Regions from separate parts of the Homo sapiens genome. Here region 1 is linked to region 2. The links are contacts of gene promoters, found by promoter capture Hi-C in blood cells and fetal thymus (Javierre and others, 2016). All regions are on one chromosome and are shown on one strand. The core of a region is centred on a gene start or on the middle of the fragment in contact, and the rest is flanking DNA. Distances in the headings are between cores, read along the strand shown. Region 1 overlaps FERMT3 (FERM domain containing kindlin 3). Region 2 holds the start of TUT1 (terminal uridylyl transferase 1, U6 snRNA-specific).

What was found. The method cuts DNA at HindIII sites, captures the fragments that hold promoters and counts their contacts. A CHiCAGO score of 5 or more calls a contact.
Region 1: a fragment that was not itself captured here is called in contact with the fragment with the promoter of TUT1 in region 2 in 1 of 17 cell types (non-activated CD4 T cells); the score reaches 5.1 in non-activated CD4 T cells.

What each region holds. Positions count from the first base shown.
Region 1 is chr11:64,206,903-64,211,409 of GRCh38, forward strand. FERMT3 (FERM domain containing kindlin 3) reads left to right here. Exons shown (of 15, transcript NM_031471.6): 2 at 449-622; 3 at 3,709-3,942; 4 at 4,150-4,269; 5 at 4,373-4,507. The coding sequence starts at 463. Among named protein-coding and RNA genes, the nearest start is that of FERMT3, 2.4 kb to the left of the region's middle. RefSeq lists enhancers at 1-67, 388-467, 1,408-1,527, 1,588-1,667. The HindIII fragment of the contact is 4,283 bases long and covers 993-4,507 here.
Region 2 is chr11:62,589,373-62,595,571 of GRCh38, forward strand. It overlaps TUT1 (terminal uridylyl transferase 1, U6 snRNA-specific), which reads right to left and starts at 2,151. Exons shown (of 9, transcript NM_022830.3): 1 at 2,032-2,151. The coding sequence starts at 2,113. It overlaps MTA2 (metastasis associated 1 family member 2), which reads right to left. Exons shown (of 18, transcript NM_004739.4): 14 at 5,892-6,120; 15 at 5,609-5,698; 16 at 5,144-5,262; 17 at 4,887-5,035; 18 at 3,842-4,668. The coding sequence ends at 4,503. RefSeq lists enhancers at 1,961-2,656, 2,073-2,302. The HindIII fragment of the contact is 7,198 bases long and covers 1-5,716 here.

The sequences.
Region 1 (4,507 bases), core at 1,884-4,383, 1.6 Mb after region 2:
CCTGAACTTTCCACCTCCCCGGAGAGGCTTTGGCTGGTTTGTGATGTTGGCATCTGAGCTGTGGGCCAGGATCGGAACTACTTCCTGGCCTGGGTACGAAGCCATGGCCAGAGTGGGCAGCTGCCCCTGAGGGTCTGGGAGTGAGCTGTGGGCTGGCATTGAGCACGGTGGTCCTGAGTGAGCCCCTTCTTACCCGGCCTCAGTCTGCCCGCCTGTAGGATGGGAGCGGATTGGACTACATGGTCTCTGAGGGCCCTCGCGGCTCAAGCGCCAGCGCTGGAGAGAGAGTCTGAGGGTACCACGGGCGTGCTGGCCTGGGTGCTCACTCCCGCCCTCCTTCATGAGCGGCTTTCCTCTGGGTGTGTCCAGGGCATCACAGAGCTCTTCTGCCCAAACCCGGAGGCCTACCAGGGCCTGCCCACCTTGCCTCCTTCCACACTCTCTGTAGCAGCAGCCGCAGCCATGGCGGGGATGAAGACAGCCTCCGGGGACTACATCGACTCGTCATGGGAGCTGCGGGTGTTTGTGGGAGAGGAGGACCCAGAGGCCGAGTCGGTCACCCTGCGGGTCACTGGGGAGTCGCACATCGGCGGGGTGCTCCTGAAGATTGTGGAGCAGATCAGTGAGTGTCCGCTGCCCGCTTGCTGAACTCGGCACCATGGGCGGCCGCCACGGGTGTCTCTGGGCACTTCCGGGCCATCCCTGCTGCTCAGCTCCCGATAATGGTGTCACGGTGACTCAGGCATTAGCTTAATCATTTGGTTCCAAAAAAGACATTTCCCCAACTTCCTCTCCCTCCCACCCTCTTCCCTCCCTCCCTTCTGCTGCAGCTGGTCTGCTAAGGATCAGACGCAGCCACAATCCTCCATTCAGCCACCAATAGGGGCAGAAGGAGTGGTCTTGTCTGGGCCGAGGCTGAAGTCACATTGCTGAGGTCTGAGGGGGTCTAGGTGACCCAGGGGCCTGCCCCCACGCTCCCTCCCCTTGGCGGAAGCTTTGAGCAGGTTGGTGACAGGCCCAGCCTGGGTGGGAAGGCCCTGCCCCCACAGGAAGTTACAGCAGAGCAGCTGTGGTATCAGTCATGGAGGACCACGGGGCTAGTGACACGGGGGCTCCTCATCTTCCTTCCCTGCCGGGGGTGGGGGCTACCCCTTCCTGAGAGAGCAGCAGGAAGACCCCGATAGGCAGAGCCGGAAGACAGGCCCACCACAGTCCCGGCCAAGAGCCTGGGCCTGGGCTGCCAGTGGGTGGGGGGTGGGTGATGGTGGGGAGGCTTCCTCAGACCCCGCCAGGCCACCATGTGCAGCACAGGAGGAGGTCAGTCCGACTGTGGAGAGGATAGGGTCCAGAACGGCCCGGCCACAAGACTGAGGCTGTGAGGGGAGCTGCCAGGGGCAGGGCCCGGAGCAGCTGTGAGAATAGAAGTGAGGAACAGAGAGAGGGTGGTGAAGACCTGGGTGGCCCCAGGGCACGGCATGAGGGTAACGCAGGAGGCCTTAACCTGGAGTCAGACAGACCCCGCTGCTCTACCCGCTGCTGGGCACCCCAGGGCAAGTTCCTTTAGCTCTGTGTTCCCTGTGGTGGGGATACTGTCACTCCTAAGCACATCAGCTCTGTCTACTGATGCTCAGCCTGGCCGCCCCGGGCCAGTCCCTGGCCTCCTGGAGCAGCAGCGGGTGAGACTGACCCATGGGGGCTGCGTGCCGGCTGCCGCACAGAGGGCGCTATCATGGGGGCCTGGAGCCAGAGGAGGGGGCTGCCCCGAGCCCAGGATGGGGATAACCCCAGGAGAAGTCCTGAGAGGTGGCCTCAGCAGGGAGGAGCAAGGTGGTGGCGCTGGGACTCGGAGGGCTGTGAATTAGGGCTCTCGGCTGGTGAGGATGCTGGGAGCGTGACCAGAAATGAGGCTGGCTGGTGCCTGGCCAGCTCTGCATGGCCCCGAAGGCCTCCAGAAGGGGTCTAGACTTTCTTCTGGAGGGGAAGGTGGCCACCGAAGGGTTCTCAGCAGGAGGCTGTCCTGCTAAGGTCAGCAGCAAGGCGAAAGGCTGGTGGCGGCAGGCCCCTGAGGAGGCTGTGGTCCTGGTTAGAGACACCAGGGCCTCCTAAGGCCGGGCAGGGAGGATGGAGAGGAGGGTGGATTTTAGAGGTGGGATTGGCATTGATTACATGTGGTGGCTAGAAGAGAAAGGGAGGATGCCTGGGCCTTTGGCGCGAGTCCGTGTCCCCCAGCCCTGAGAGGTGGTGTAGGGAGCTGGTGAGGAGGGGGAGCTGGCTAGGAGAGGGCACCTCTGTGCACAGCGAGTCTGAGCTGAGCTCCAAAAGCCGAGACCAGGAGTCATGGTGCTTACAGTCCCAGTGTCAGCCACTCGGCCACAGGAACAGAGGGTTCTGGAAAGGAGGAAGCCGGTGGACAGGCCCCTCAGCTGGCAGCACATGGGTTTCTGGCTGGGGGCCCAGGGCAGGGTCTGGGCCGAGGGCCACGCATGGGGAGGCAGCAGAAAATGGCAACTGAAACCACAGAATAGGGAGACCCAGTAAGGGGACCTGGCCGAGGCAGGAGAAGAGGGTCCCAGGCCGAACCTGGGGAAAGGACAAGGTAAGGGGCCGGTCAGGAGAGGGACCGGAGAGGGGCCAGAGAGGACAGGAGAAGAGCAAGGAGCCAAGACAAGGGGATGCGGCGGCACACAGCCAGAGTCCCACTGGGGTGCCCAGGAGGGAAGGGCCCAGCCTGGGAGGGGAAGTGCCGGAGGACGAGCGCTTCTCTTGGTTTGGCAGCAGTGGTGATGCCCGGCATGTGCAGCAGTGGGGTTGGGGGCTGGCTGAGGTGGGTGGGATGCAGTGGGAATCAGAAAACTCACCGGGAGGACCTGGGAGGAACTCAGGAAACAGGGCTTTGCAAACTCTCAAGGGCTGTGTGCCCAGAGCAGCTTTCCGGCAGCCTTTTTCCTATGCTCTCTCCCACCTGTTCATGCTCCTGGAGGGAGGAGGCGGGGAGACCTGTGCCTTCCATTACTGTAACTCCAGTTCCCAGCTGGCTGACAAGGGACAGACGCACATCTCTAATTCAATGCTCACTCATGGATCGTCATGTGCGTGCACAAGTTTGCTGCAAACCCTGCAGCTACCACATGGGAGGCCTTGTTCCGTGTCCCAGTTTGTAAGATCGTTATTGTATCTTACAGGGAAACTGAGGCCCAGTGAGGTTAAGTGGCTTGTCCAAGGTCACACAGCTAATAGCTAAAAATATTGAGTGCTCACTGCTCCAGGCCAGGCACAGGTCCAGGCCCTGAGGACATACAACGGTGAGACAGACGTAGTCTCTGCCTCCAGGAGCTCCCCAGAATGCAAGACAGAGGCTGTTAAACCGTGGATTATGGGAGGACAGAGGGGGCGTCATGTGGAGGGAGCCCAGTGGGCTGGAATGCAAGAGATGGGGCGCTAAGATTGGGGCACTCAGATGCTGGGTTGGAGAGCTCCCCTGGGAAGCGATATAGAAGCCAAGCCTAGAAGGCCAAATCAGGGGCTGCCTGCAGAGAGCCCTGCTGCTGTTACCATGGGGTAGACCCCAGGCCCGCCCAGGCTGCCCCACTCTTGGCTTAGGCAGGGCAGGGGAGTGGTCGCCCCAGGCTTCTGAATCCTGGGGTTGTGCTGGGTGTTGGGGGCACCAGGGAGGAAGGTTGGACCCAGATGTGCCCCCGTGCCCCACAGATCGCAAGCAGGACTGGTCAGACCATGCTATTTGGTGGGAACAGAAGAGGCAGTGGCTGCTGCAGACCCACTGGACACTGGACAAGTACGGGATCCTGGCCGACGCACGCCTCTTCTTTGGGCCCCAGCACCGGCCCGTCATCCTTCGGTTGCCCAACCGCCGCGCACTGCGCCTCCGTGCCAGCTTCTCCCAGCCCCTCTTCCAGGCTGTGGCTGCCATCTGCCGCCTCCTCAGTAAGTTGCCCGGCTGATTCCCCTGGCCCACGAGGGTGATGCAAAGAGGCAGGTTCCCCCGTTTCCAGGCCCAGCTCTGTTGACGCTGTCCTTGCTGTCTGGGTTGCCACCCTGCCTGCAGGGCTGTGACCCGCCCCAAGCACCCATGGGTGAGGTGGGGAGGCTGCAGCAGGACCTAGTCCCCGCTGAGACCCTAGCTCCCCTCAGGCATCCGGCACCCCGAGGAGCTGTCCCTGCTCCGGGCTCCTGAGAAGAAGGAGAAGAAGAAGAAAGAGAAGGAGCCAGAGGAAGAGCTCTATGACTTGAGCAAGGTTGTCTTGGCTGGGGGTGAGTGCAAGTGGGGGTGGGCCTGGGGGGTTGGGGGCAGGGGCCGGCCCGTGAGTCCCAGCCCTGGGGGACAGGCCTGGTTGACTCCCAACCTGCACTCCAGGCGTGGCACCTGCACTGTTCCGGGGGATGCCAGCTCACTTCTCGGACAGCGCCCAGACTGAGGCCTGCTACCACATGCTGAGCCGGCCCCAGCCGCCACCCGACCCCCTCCTGCTCCAGCGTCTGCCACGGCCCA
Region 2 (6,199 bases), core at 901-3,400:
CTTATACATTTGTCTAAATAGTACATTCTTTTTTTTTTAATTTATTTTTTTTAAACAGAGTCTCACTGTCGCCCCCGCTGGAGTTCAGTGGCGCAGTCTCCACTCACTGCAACGTCTGCCTCCCAGGTTCAAGAAATTCTCCTGCCTCAGCCTCGTGAGTAGGTGGGACTACAGGCGTGTGTCACCACACCCGGCTAATTTTTGTATTTTTAGTAGAGACGAGGGTTCCCAGGAGAACTGGCTACACTACAAGTATTTTGTTTATTTTTACTTAAAGAACAGTGTGATAGTAAAGTATTTCTTAAACCACCTATTTGTGCTAGGTAGAGTTGGAAACAAATTAACAGGTAACTTATCCAGGTCATCTACACAAGAACTAAAAAAATTTGGATCATGGAATACTTTGTGGATCATCTTTGGACATGGTATAATATAGTGATGTCAAAGGCAGGATCTGAAATTACATTGCCCAAGTTCAAATCCCAGCTCTGTCAACCTGTGTGAGACCTTGGTCAAGTTATGAAGCCTCACTGTGCATCAACTTCCTCAGATATAAAATGGAAATATCAGTATCTAGCACCTCACACACAGGTATTATTCAGATATATCACTTGGCAGAGAGAGTCTGGTACACGGTAAATGTTGAAAAACTAACCGTTGCTATTATTTTATTGAGTTAGCTGCTTGATGTCACCAAAGTAAATGTGGGGCCAAAGAAGACTCCTAGGTTTCTGGCTTGGCTTACTGGATGAACAGTGATAGTGCCATTCACAGTGAAAAGGAAGAATGGAAGTAAACCCTGTTTAGGGAACACTGTGATTCCAGACTTCAAAAGTAGGGCTGGGCACATTGGCTCACGCCTGTAATCCCAGCACTTTGGGAGGCCAAGATGGGAAGATCGCTTGAGGCCAGGAATTGGAGACCAGCCTAGGCAACATGGTGAAAACCCATCTCTACAAAAAACTAAAAAATTTGCCAAGTAGGCCGGGCGCGGTGGCTCAGGCCTGTAATCCCGGCACTTTGGGAGGCCGAGGCGGGCGGGTCACGAGGTCAGGAGATCGAGACCATCCTGACTAACATGGTGAAACCTCGTCTCTACTAAAAAATACAAAAAATTAGCCGGGCGTGGTGGCGGGTGCCTGTAGTCCCGGCTACACGGGAGGCTGAGGCAGGAGAATGGGGTGAACCCAGGAGGTGGAGCTTGCAGTGAGCCAAGATCGTGCCACTGCACTCCAGCCTGGGTGACAGAGTGAGACTCTGTCTCAAAAAAAAAAAAAAAAGAAAAAAGAAATTAGCCAAGTATGGTGGTGCACACCTGTAGACTCAACTACTTGGGAGGCTAGCCAGGGGTATGGTTTGAGCCCGGGAGGTTGAGGCTGCAGTGAGCCAAGATCACACCACCGCACTGCAGCCTGGGTGACAGAGCAAGACCTTGTCTCAAAAAAAAAAAAAAAGTGGAATTTGAAGTTACAGTGAACCCCTTGTGTGTCATACAAGAACCTTGTCTATTTTTCCAAACCCATCTTCTGTCTCTTCCTCACTGGTACCTTATGGTCTAGTCATTCATGCCACACCTATTTCATCCATCCCCTCCTTTGAGTAGGTCCTCTGTAGGGCTTCTCTGATTTAGTTACTAATTCTCTGTGGTCCCACAGTTCTCCGAACATATCTATAAAGCATTGAAACTTTCTCATTCTCTAGACGGTGAGCTCCTTCATCTCTGAACCCCCCTCCCCCACCCTAAAGATCAGCAGAATACCAGGCACAGAGCATATGTCCAATAGATGATGGTTAAAGAAGTAATAAAACAATTAAACTTGCGTTGTGGAGATTTCATATACTGAGGAGTGTAATGTGGTGGAACTTTCCCGACTCTCCAAATCCCCTCGGACTTGCAGAGAAAAACGGAGGTGAGAGACCCTACCAATCAACTTGACAAGAACGACTGACTACCTATAACCCTAACTTTCGCCAGGATCAAAAGACGAAAGCCCGCAACCACCCCCGGGTCCCTCACTAGCCACCGCTTACGGTTGGCTGTAGTAACGTGGCAGAGGCAGCAGCGGAACCCCCCACGCGGCAGCGATTCGACATCCGAATCCACCGCCGCCATAGCGACTCTCCTGTACCGACAAAAACACAAGCACCTCTGCCACCACCGGAACCCACTTCGCCAAAGCTCAACGCGCTCGGAAGCAACTTCCGCCGATCCGATAGGAAGTGACATAAAGTCGTTCAATTGCGCGGACACACTCCTCCGGAAACCAAGCTCCTTCGACTCTGGGTTCCGTTTCTAGCCGCTGTCCAGTCCCCGCCCGTTTCAGGAAAAGCGGCGCGTTACGATGCTTATCTGCATGCGGTAAGCCGATTGGTGTGCTTTAAGCTGTTCAGACGTTGATTGGCCCAAAGCATCGTGAATATTCATGACAGCAGCCACAAAGGCCGGCGCCGGGTGGCATCTTGCGGCAGCTCCTTCACCCCGCAGTAGACACCCGTGCGTCTGTACCCTCGACCCTTATTTACCCGACGAATAAAGGCGGAGGATCGGCGGCTTCCAATTCTTTGCCCCACGGAGCCCAGGGCTGTCCCTGGACTTCCAACCTTTTCAGGGCTGTTACTCCCTCCCTCCGCCCCCTGTCCTCCCGCAAAACGGGTGTTCTGCGACGGCTTCTAGCCCTGGTTGGGGAGCTCTGCCACCACCGGGCACCTTCCGGACTCCACGAGGTCCTGGAGCCAGGCCCATTCCTTCCGCAGTAGTGGGCTGCGTGGTGTACGCCGGAGGCGCCAGAGCTACTGGCGCACCTCAGAGCAGTGCGACAAGACAAAACCGAGTGCCAGTAACTGAGTTTAGACACTGGAGGGGGCGAATGCTGTCAACCCCCTCCTGGTATAATTGTCAGTTCATCCCAACGCCGCCGAGGTGTAGGCTCAGGACAGGGAGGGACTACGGGGAGCTGGGGATGCCCTAGGGACAGGGACCATAACGAGGTGGAGAGAACTATCAGATGGGCTCAGCAGCTTGTGCTGTGGTTATCAGCCCACAGCTTTGAATGGCGCAAAGAGCAGTGGACCTAAGGCAGACACCAAGGTCTTTGACCTTGAACAAGTCACAACTGTTGAGGCCGTTTCCCATCTCTAAAGGAAGTGCCCAAGGAGCACACAGCAGGCTGAACTTCTTGTTCTCTATCCTAAGGTGTTCCTTCTAATGGGCCCAGCTCAGGCATCTAATCTCAGTGTCCCAAACCTTTAAGGCAGGAAACAGTGCTACAGTGGATCGGGATATCATCGAGACTGGCCTTGAGGATCCTGAAGCAGCAGGCTGTACACATACACCCAGAGGTGCTAGGGTGGTTCAGTGGTAGAATTCTCGTCTGCCAAATACACCACACAGCTAGGTGAGGGGATCCTCCTATAACCCCACCACCACCCCCAAGGGGGTATACATGTTACCCTGGCTGCTAGCAACTTCCAGAATTCCTTAAACAAAAGGGAGAGGGGAGTAAGAGGTGGGAAACAGAGGAAGAAACACCCCCATTCCCCTTTCCTATGGAGGCCACCAGTCATCCAGAAAGCTCATCTCAACTCCTTTGAATGAATCTGGGCCAAGATGGTTCTTGAGCTCCAGCACCACTGGGAGCTGGGGAGCAGTTTGGGTCCCACAAGAAGCCTAGCTGGAGCAAGCCGCCTGGGTCCAGGCTGCCTATCTCATAAAGCTGTTCCCAGGGCAAGAACCATCTGTACCTCCTTTGTTGTCCTTTGTCCTTTATTTTCCCTCTCAAAGACACCCCCAACACACACACAACACACACCCATGGCAAAGAACAGCTGAGCCAGGAGAAGCTGAAGAAAACAGCTTTTTATTTGTTACTATAAGAACCAATTACAGAATCCGAGGTTAAAAAAACGGACAAAAGATCTTTATTTCTGAGAACTGGCGTACAAAAGGCAGAGGGGGAGGGGAGGGAAGGAAAGAGCGAGCGTGGCCTGGGGTTGATGCCAGCTTAGGGGCCTCAAACTCCAATTAGGAAAGTCCGGACACCGGACAGAAAGAGAAACCCCCAATTAGGAAAAAAAAAAAAAAAAAAAAAAAAAAAGACATGGCAGTGCACGCCCCCCTCCCCCAACCAGGTACCACCACCTGTTATCTGTTTACTCTTCCCCTCCCCATCCCCTTTCACAAAGGGAGGCAAAATTTTTAAAAAATTAAAAAACCCTCCCCCCAAAACTGTCCAAGACATCTGTGGGTCCTACCCCCCAAAACAGGCTAGGTTCCCACATGGGCCAAGTTCCTGCAGTCTGTCCTCCATCGGCAAGCATGGAGGCATGAGACAAGTCTCGAGGTGGTAACACCAGAGGGCGCCCAACCCCTCCAGGGACACACACTCACTTGCTCTCTTCCTTAATTCACTCCTCACTCCCTTCGACACGAAAGGGAAGGGAGGTTTGGGTGCCCTGGGCATCCACCCTCTACCTCTCAGCCCACCTCCCTTCCCCACAGGTGCTCAGTCCTCCAGGACAATAGGCTCATTGGTGCTGGCAGGATGTGAGGGTGCAGGTAGAGGGACAGGGGGCCGCACTGCAATCAGCGTTGGCTTCACCTTCAGGGGCAAGTTGGGTCGGCGAGCAGCTCGCCGCATTTCCAGATGGGTCAGAGCCTTCCGTAGGGCCCTGGCCAGAAAGAGCAAGTGGGAAACAGAAAAGGCTTAGAGAACATTAAGACCTCCAGGTGAAGCCCCACACTGCAATTATGCCTTCTGGCCCATTCTTTTCTGGCATCCCCACCCTGCATCCACAACTTTCCTGGAGCTCTTGCTCTGATACTCCTACTCCCCACACTCACCAGCCTGGACTGTCCCTCTCAGCCCCTCCCATGGTAGACGCCTTACCTGGTATCCTTTGTGGCCACAAACACCACAGGATTGGGGGCATCAGCTGGGTTTAGTTTCTGACGCTTGGCTGCTGGCTGTGAGCTTGAACGAATCCCTGAAGCCAGAGGCCTTCCATTGGCAGAGAAAGGAACCCCTGCCCCTGCCATCTGGAAAAGGGGTAGGATGGCACAATGAGGGAAGGGACCCTCTCAGACTCCTATGAGAGACAAAAGCCCACCCAACTCAATCTGGCCCACCCCTTTCTGTCAACTCACAGTCTCATAGGCCCGTTTCACCATAATGCCCCCCAGTCCCCGGTTCTGGGACAGCTGGTTTCTGTTGATCGGTGTCTTGGTACCCCGAGGTGTTTTTGGTTTCAGGGGTGCCTGGGCCACTGGAAAAAAACAGAAAACTTTCGCACCTTTTCTTCCCACGCAGTTCCCCTTTGTTACTTCCATCTCTCTTCCCTGGACCAGCAGTTTACCTGGGCATCCCCAAAAGTAGCAATGGGGGAATGTTCTGGCAAGCTATCACTAGTATTTCAAATATCAGTATGACCTTATCAAATCAGTACAGTAATACTGAATAGTTTACAAAAAAAATTATTAAACAACAAAAGTACAGTTTGTTAGACTAAATCTCTGAGGACACTATGAGGAAGAAAAAAAGCAAGGGGAGAGATGTCAGACAGGGAAAGGACTGGGAGCCTGATGCCAACCTCACTGGTCCCCATCCCATACCCAGATCTTTGACGATAGTTGCCAGGGGCAGCCGCACCAGAGGGTGAATCTTCAATGGAGTCTTGGCGGCCTTAGGAAGTCGAATGGAGCCTGGAGAACAAAGAAGAAAGCTTCTGAAGGGCTTCACCATTCAGGTCTCCTCTAAGGCCAGAAGCCAACTCTAATCTTAAAAAAATTATCTGTGGCCTACTATCCCTCCTGTTATTAGACATCCAGAGAAACAACGGTCTCTGGGCAGAGCAATCCGAAACCCACCACCAGTCCCACCACTCCCTGCCCTTACACTCTGCTTTGATGGCATTGGCATTGATAGGAGCATAAGGCCGTCGGGCGGCCCTCCTTGGCTGTAATAGGTCCCTGCACATGCGTCTGGCAAGACGGGTCAGCTTTGTGGTCTGAAGCAGGAAAGTTTGTCTGTTCTTAGCCAGTAGCTTGGCCCTGTTGGCGCTGGTTGTGTAAGGAGAGAGACTTTGAGCTTCAGGTCTGGATAAATGACCCCTTGAGTGTGGCTCCTAGAAGAAGAGCATAGGAAAGAGAGAGAGCAGAAATCAGCACTGAGGCTCCCTTCTTTCTTCCATTCCCTGCAGGGGA